Regions from separate parts of the Homo sapiens genome. Here region 1 is linked to region 2. The links are contacts of gene promoters, found by promoter capture Hi-C in blood cells and fetal thymus (Javierre and others, 2016). All regions are on one chromosome and are shown on one strand. The core of a region is centred on a gene start or on the middle of the fragment in contact, and the rest is flanking DNA. Distances in the headings are between cores, read along the strand shown. Region 1 has its middle 11 kb from the start of LINC00941. Region 2 holds the start of FAR2 (fatty acyl-CoA reductase 2).

Region 1 (4,301 bases), core at 276-2,775, 1.6 Mb before region 2:
AGTAGAGACGGGGTTTCACCGTTTTAGCCGGGATGGTCTCGATCTCTTGACCTCGTGATCCACCCGCCTCGGCCTCCCAAAGTGGGACTCCTTATTTTTTTTTAAGTTTTTGTGCTATTGCTATGGAAATATTCTGATGATTTACATGGTTGTGCTAGAGTTTTTTAATTTGTCTATTAGAATTGTGAGAACTTCCTTTACAAAAGTGCTCATTTTTATGTAGCTAAGAGACCAGTACAGATCTTCTCCAAAGAATATCATCATCACAAATTAAATAAAAACTTAGCATACAAAAGGATTCACATTTTACTGCTGAAAGTGCCTCCGGATCTAAATCAGCCCATCAATCAAGGCTTTCTTAGACACTGACTAAATGTTTAGCATAATCCTGAGTACTCTGGGGCTGTGGAACTCTGCATCTGCTGAACGCCAGGATCTAATGGGGAGCTTTATCAAATAAACAGGTTCCCGGTGGCTCCACTTCTGAAGATTCAAATTGGTGGCTTCTGGCATGAGGCTCTTGGGAATCTGGTTTTTTTGTTTGTTTGTTTGTTTTTCTTTTTTTGTCTTGTTTTGTTTTTAACATCACAGGTGATTCTGATGATTAGTCAGGACTGGGAACCATACCTGCTGTGGTTCCCAAAATCTGGTCCCTGGACCCACATTATCTGCATCACCTAGCAACTTATTAGAAATGCAAATTCTCAGGGCTGTGAATGGAAAATAAAAATCTCGGGACCCCGAACTCACTATGCCAAAGGGAAAGTGAAGCTTGGGAACTGAGTCACACAAAAGCAATCAAACTGCCTTCCTTTTTGTTCCCAACCAAATAGCTGCAAAATAGAAGGTCACATATCTTCCCAGGGGTCCTCCCTCACAAATTGCTCACAAGGAAATTCCTCGTGGACTCCACATCTTTCAGAATACATATCCCTCCTATAAACTTGCCCTAAAATAGAGTGCTGTTGAATCTTACCCTGACAATGCAAATTAACAGCTTATTTTCACAGGTAAGGGCCAAACATAAGACTAGAAATTCCTCCACCCACCCCAAACAAATGCATAATTGAGTTCTTCCTCTACTCTATGCTTACTTTATCTTATGTAAAATGTAGATATACGCAGCATGAGAAGAATGCATAATTGACTTTAACCCCACCACTCTCTTTTCACATGTAAAATGTGGATTCAGTGAGTAGTTTTTAAGGGCTAATAGAAGCCTCACAAGAATGTAAACATGTTACTGCCTACACCCAGCCTCTTTTTTTTTCTCCTTCCTCTTCTACCTGCTCTTTCCTCTTTAAATATTGAAGTCCTCAAAACCCTCTTTGGAAAAAGTACAGGCCGCAGATTCTACTGTAACTTGTGTTTCTTTTTCCCTGGCCACATCCTCAACCTTGGCAAAACAAACCTCTAACTCGATTGAGATCTGCCTCAGCCACTTTTTGGTTCACAGGCTCTATTCAGACCCACTAAATCATAGACTCTTGAAGTAGGGATTAACAATCTCTGTTTTATCAAGCCCTCCAGGTGATTTTTATGTTTGATACAGTTAAAGAATCATTTCAGATTTTTAATCTACTGAGCTTAATGACCTTTTCTTCATATGAAGATTGATGTCAAAGTTCTTTCTTTCTTTGCTGCAGAGCTAAGGAAATAGGACTTACTTTTTTCTCTTCGATTACCTAGCCAGCCACTATACCCTTCAGGGTTCTCTTATTCTTAATATGCCTGAAAAAGTGTGGAGAGGAAATAGCTTTCTCAACTTCCCACTTCCTTGCTGCTTGGGAAGACAAGAATATATGTAGACAGGCCCTTCTGCTTCCAAGGAAAATAGGAAGGAGATAACAAATGATAACCAATATGAAGATGTGTCAGAAGTTCTGGAATTTTAAAATGACTTTCTGCCCTGGTCTTGTACCCCCGGTTTTTATTCCTGATTATGGAGCTCACACCCTCCCCACTTTCTCACTCCTCCTTTAGCAAACCCTTATGACTCTTCACACCAATTCAAGGTCTAAAAAGAAAATACAGCCAGCCAGAGATGGCCTCTTTCAGCATAAATTTTATTTTTACTTGTTAATGGAAATCTCCCTAAAACAAAATTGTAAGAGTTAAAGAAACAGGAAAGAGACACGAAATGTGGTTTGACAGTAAAGACAGGTTTACTTTTGATAAAACCTGAGAGGGGCTTCTGGCTGACTTTGGTTAGGAGCACTTTCTCTTACAGACTAAGAGAACATATTGGTTTTAGGGTAAGGGGGCTTATTAGAAGCTTGGAATGTTTCTGTGTGAGGGACAAGTTTTATGGTGGGGTTGGAATGTCTCTGGGAGGAGGGGAGTTTATCTTGGGGCAGACATCTTTCTGGCTTGGAGTGGGGTTATCTCGGAGCTGGCATCTTCCTGGCTGGCGGGGGGTTATCTCGGGGCTGGCAAGTCTCTGATTGGGGAGGAGTTTGGAATGTTTCTGGTTGGAGATGTTATTTGTGGTTATTGTGGTTTATGCTGACCTTAGCCATTAGGCTGATACCCTTTGGATTTAGGCGTTTTTTTTTTATTAAGGTGAACTTTAGAATGAGGGGCTTGTCCAAGATGGTGATGCTCCTGCTCTGTCAAAAATTTGTTTACTGTCATCTGGATTTTTGTTGATGGATCATTTAGTATTATTACAATGAACATTAACTGTTATATACTGCAACAAACAATGATGTCATGGACTTTAAAGACTGAAGATGTGTTTAGCCATTAAATGATCTAAGATGTCTAGGATTTTATTTCTTATATTTATATTTCTTTCTTTTCACTACCAAGTGATCAGAAAATCTGCCTAAATACCTTTTCCAATATTAGTTTTTACTGCTTTGAATTTTTTGCTTTTAATTTGTGAGGGCTGGGAAACCAGAAAATACGTTTGTTAAAATTGTGTTTTAAATGAGTACAGCAGATTAAGTTGTGTGATACTCAATGCTGATGAGGTTGTATTAAAGTTAGAACTTCCTGATTATTGTTTGAAAGCATTAATGTAATCCTTTGAGAAAGCAATTTGGCAACATATAACAAGATCCTTAAAATATTTATATTCTTTAATATAATATTCTTTTTTCTAGAATTAACATAAGAACTTAATTTATTGCCAAAGTATTTATCCACAATGAAATTTTAACGTAATTTATAATAAGGGAAAAGTGTAAATGATCTAAATATTTAATAGAAGAGTTTTCAGGTAAATTATAGAACCTTTAATGAAACTGTATATAGTCATTAAAACTGATTATACAAAGATTATGAAATAACTTTATCTTGTGATACATGAATATGATAGAATATTAAATGAAGAAGGTAATTCTCACATCCACTTGAGACCTTAGAAATGATGTAAAAATAATGCGTATTTTATATAAGTTATCTCATTTAAACCTCACAAAAAACCTCTAAAGTGAGTACTATTATTATCTACATTTAATAGATGAGAAAACTGTCACCAAGAGTTTAAGTAACTGGCAAATAATTGTCAGAGCTGAGATTCCAACCCCAGCAATATGGGTCCAAGAACCTGTGCTTATAACCACTGGGCTTTAAGCAGAGACATCTCAGTTTATGCTTGGTGTCCTAGCATGATTATTTATAGTGTCCCATTTCATTCTTAGAAGTCACAATTTGAATGATAAATCATATGGTTACACTAGCTCTACATGAATACATGGCCATGCTAAAAAAATAAGTAAATTATCAATAGATCAGAAACTATGGGGATTTTTTGAGACTAAATCCATGTAGAATCAGAGGAAAGAAGAAACTGGTAACCCAAACCAGCTGAGGGAAAGAAGAGCATGAGCACAAAGAATCAGTGACCAAGTGGGCCTCATGCCTGGAGGCTATCAAAGTCAGGATGGCATCCAGGAGCAATTGGTGTGGGAAGTAGTGGGTTACTATAGCAAGAATAGTGAGTTCAGTTGTAGTAGATTGCAAAAATGCTCACAATACATCTCCAAACAAGAGAGTAGGGAGATGTGTTCCCACCCCTTTGAATCTGGGTTGGCCCTGTGGCTCTCTCTGACTGAAAGAATGTGATAGAAGTGACACTGTGTGAATTCTGGACACTGCCACCAAGTGAACAAGCTTGGGCTAGCCTGGTGGAAGATGAAACCACATGGAGAAGGACCAAGTGTCCCAGCTGACAGGTGGCCACCTGCCAGACATCCAAGTGAGGCTACTTAGGATTCCTCCAACCCCTGCCTGCCCAGCGGATCAGCCAACTGCCAACTGACTGCATATCTTGCAGCTGACTGCAAATGCACGAA
Region 2 (3,942 bases), core at 409-2,908:
AAGCATATTTTCATTTACTTTAATTTCTCTAATAGCTGTATGATTTACCAACTCATGGTGATTTACATCTCTTTTATAGATAATTATAGCCCAATGTTAGAAATAGGAGTAAGTGAGGAATTTGTTAATACAGCAGGGGCAGAAGCAGCCCTCAGAATTAGGAAAAGAGTACTGTAAAGACGTGGATCCTGAGAAATACTACCGATGAAATATTGACACACGCGTCGGCCTGGTAAAAACCTCATGCCCATCTCCTAGAAGTCTCACACACAAATATCCCTTCTGCGGAAATGCCTGCTCTTGCAGTTTAGGTGGCTGCCTTAAGTTTTTATTTAGTCCCTTGCCCCCCTTTCTAAATTTTGGACTAACTACACCTGTCAGTCAAATCTCCAGCTCTTATAAATGGGAATATACAGAGATGGGTAATTGAAACCACGGGGTAATTCTCAAATTTCCATTTGCCCAGTGTCAAATTTCTCTCAACCTAGCAAACAGAAAAGCACGATCTACCTGAATTCCCTGGTCACTTTTCTGACCCTACTCTGTCCTTGCTCATCACATAATGGGGGCACTTTACGTGATTCAACGAGTGGCCAAACTCTTGCAGATCCAGCGATAACCTTGGTTGCTCACACCACATAACTCAACCGTGGAAGAAATGGTGCCACCGCTGGCAGGTGAGACGCCTTCCTCTGGTTTGTAGGATACGATTGGGCATGAATTGTTTTAATAGACTGAGACTGCCCCGCGGGTAATTCTACTTGCTAGGAGTGTTGAGCAGCCTTCCTGCAAGCCATCTACTCCAGTTGGGAGTCTGCTGGCACCTGCTCCCCTGCACACCCCCAGGATGCCCAGGCCGCAGGAAGATGTCTAAAACTTCCTACAGGGGCAAAGCCCGCCCTGGCCTCACCAGTCGCCCCAGCGCGCGTCAGCCACGACCCCGGCGAGGCCCAGGTGGGAGGGTAGGGACGTGCGCAGCCTGGGGTGGGGCTGGGGGCTGGCGAGGACCTGCTCCGGGGACCAGGACTGGGCGCCCTGGCGGTCCCAGGCACCGGGAGGGGACCTAGGACCGCTGCCGTTTCACACGTGGCCCCGGCATTTTCGCGCTCTCTCCAGGAATAGCCCCAAGGGCCCAGGAGGCCTGGGTGGGACTCGGCCCCGCGCCTCTCTTCCCGGGTCCCCAGTCCCCAAGGCGCGGCCCCCCACATTAACCTTGCTGGGTCCTTCCCGGCTTTCTGCCCTTTGCAACCCCCGCGCGCCCCACCTTGGCGGGCTCCGCCGACGCCAACCGCGCGTAAACGGCCGGTGACGATTGGGGTGCAGCCGGGGGCAGCTTCAGGGGGCAGAGCCTCCGCAAATGCTTCTCTCCTCCCACCCGGCCTCACACCCACCCTCCTCGAGGTCCCGCCGGGAACCGCCCCGCCCTGCGAACCCAGCCGAGCCCTCCCTCCTGGGCCACCCCCAGTCCGGTCTCTGCTTTTGGAGCGCGTGGGCTCTGCGAGCGCCAGGGCTGGGGACCCTGGAATACCTGTTCCTCCAGCACGAGGATGGGGTCCAACTAGTGGTCCTCTAAATCCTGCTCCTTCCCCGAGGCTACGGGAAGCGCTCCAGCCACAAGGAAACGGCTCCAGTCTTTCGGCTCCCAAACGTGACACTCTATATATCCGGCTCGGAGACTGGGTGTGGGGCGGGAGGAAACCACCCTCCCTCCGACCTTCCCCGGCTCCGCCGCTGCCTCGGCACTGGGCGCGAAACCGGCGGCAGCCTCAGCCCGGGGCGGGAGGAGGGTGAGGGGCCAGCGAAGGCCCTACAGGTCGCGGGGGCGACAGCATCGTGGGCAGGGCGGCCGCGCGCGCAGGCCCGCCCCGCGCTTCCATTCGTTCAGCACCAGCGGATCCACTGGCTATGACTCCCGCATTTGTGTGGTTTGGGGGAGGGGAGTTGGTTTTGGTTTCGGTGGGTTTGGTTTGTTTGTTTGTTTGGGGCTTTTGTTTTGTTTTGTTTTGGGTTTTGGGGTTGGTTTTTTTCTCCATTTTTTAATCAGTGGGCGAGGGGACAAGGAAGCTAGAAAGGCGCCCCTCTCTGGTGTGGGAAAGGAGAACTCCCACACCGTGAAAGGTGGCGGGGTAGGGGGGTGGAGGGAGAGACCGAGACAGGAGAGAGATTCAAAGGTTCTAGTCTGAACTGAACGCTTGGGGGACATACCTTTCCCCACCCACCCTAGCAGAAAAGGCAGCCAAAAATCCCAGTTTACTCAGCTTGACTACACTGCACATCCCGTGGGAGGGATGCTCTTGTATCTGCTAAAGACATTGCGGAGGCGCCCTGCAGTGACCCACGAACGCAGTGGCTTTTTAAAACCCAAGGGCGTGAGGGTGGAGGGTGATGCGAGGACTTCAGGTGAGGCTTCCTCACACTCGGGGTTTGAAGGGCAGAAATCCGGCTCTGCCTGCCTATGGTGGGGTGGGGGTGGGTAGGAGACTAGAAAGGATCAGAGATGGGGGCCGCAGAAACAGCAGTGAGCCAGCTGTGCTCAGCAGCACTTCTCCGGACTTAAAAGAAAAAAAGATGTTTCATTTCTTAGCCTGGTAGCTTTTTTGGGATTTGGTCATTGTTAAATTTTAAACGGAAAAACAAGCTGCCAGGGAAGCCTTGTAGAGGGATGGACAGGCACGTGAGTGGAGCCCTTGGCCTCAACCAGGAAGTGCTGAAAAACGGCCAACGCCCATCCTAATTCCCTGGACAATGTAGGAGGTAAATTTCCAAATAAATATGGTGTGTTAAGAAAAATAGAAAAGAAATATTGTCCTATAAGCTGTTCTGATTCTCCTCATTATAACAATCCACATGCAATTAAAGAAATAAAATTTGACTTTTGAAAGTTAGAATTAAGGAGTGATTTCATGAAATTAAAATAATAACACCCATCTTGAATTCTCTACTACTGGGCTCTTTAATGAAATGTGTTAAGCTAAGTGTAGCCTAAAGGCACTGACTAATTTCCTCTGGTGACCGCCTGAATGCAAGAGACAGAAAAAAAGTTACAACCAAATTTATAGTATTTTTCGTTACCCCTCCCCTCCTCAAGAATAAATTTGAATGTATCTTCAAAATGTGTGTGACAGCACTTCAAATGATAATGTCAAATGCTGGTGAAAACGTATAGAAATCACTTAACAGATAGCAGATGGAAGGTAAATTGTAATCACGCTTTTGTTGGAAAGCAATTTAGCAACACATTCCCAAGGTGTTCAGTAACGAAATTTTTTCTTGTTCTGGACCTAGATTCCCATGTCTTACAATGTATTCAAAGGAGATAATCCATAAAAGAGAAATGCCGCATGTACATAGTTGCATATTTATTACCGAGTTGTTTATAAAGTAGGAAATTAAAAGCATACTTTCAGTGGGATGTTCATAGATAAAATACAACATTAATTATAGATTACAAAACCACAATTTGATTATCACCATTTAAAACGCTATTCATATATGTAGAATGTATTAGTTTGCTAAGGCTGTCATAAGGATGCACATAAACTGGGTGGATTAAACTATAGAAATGTATTATTTCATAATTCTGGAGGCTAGAAGACCAAGATCAAGATGTCTGCAGGGTTGGTTCCTTATGAGGGCTTTGAGAGAGAATTTTCCATGATGCTTACCTACTTCCAGTGGTTTCTTGTTGGCTTGTAGACACATGACCCCTGTCTCCTATAATCTTCATATGGCATTCTCCCTATGTTCATGTCTGTGTCAAAATTTATCCTTTATAAAGATACCAGTCATATATGATTTAGAGCTCACCTTAATGGCCTCATTTTAACTTTACTAATTAAATTTGCAACAACCCTATTTCCCAATAAGGTCACATTCTAGAGTACTGGGAGTTAGGACTTCAATATGTGAAACTGGCAGGGGCGGAGAAGAACGCAGTTCCAC

Evidence for each region. Contacts are between HindIII fragments. The CHiCAGO score rates a contact against its expected background, and 5 or more counts as called.
Region 1: a fragment that was not itself captured here is called in contact with the fragment with the promoter of FAR2 in region 2 in 1 of 17 cell types (erythroblasts); the score reaches 5.8 in erythroblasts.

The regions. Positions count from the first base shown.
Region 1 is chr12:30,782,555-30,786,855 of GRCh38, reverse strand. No RefSeq gene overlaps it. Among named protein-coding and RNA genes, the nearest start is that of LINC00941, 11 kb to the left of the region's middle. RefSeq lists an enhancer at 866-1,367. The HindIII fragment of the contact is 1,504 bases long and covers 774-2,277 here.
Region 2 is chr12:29,146,994-29,150,935 of GRCh38, reverse strand. FAR2 (fatty acyl-CoA reductase 2) reads right to left here and starts at 1,658. Exons shown (of 12, transcript NM_001271783.2): 1 at 1,529-1,658. RefSeq lists silencers at 1,291-1,440, 1,751-1,810. The HindIII fragment of the contact is 9,301 bases long and covers 1-3,942 here.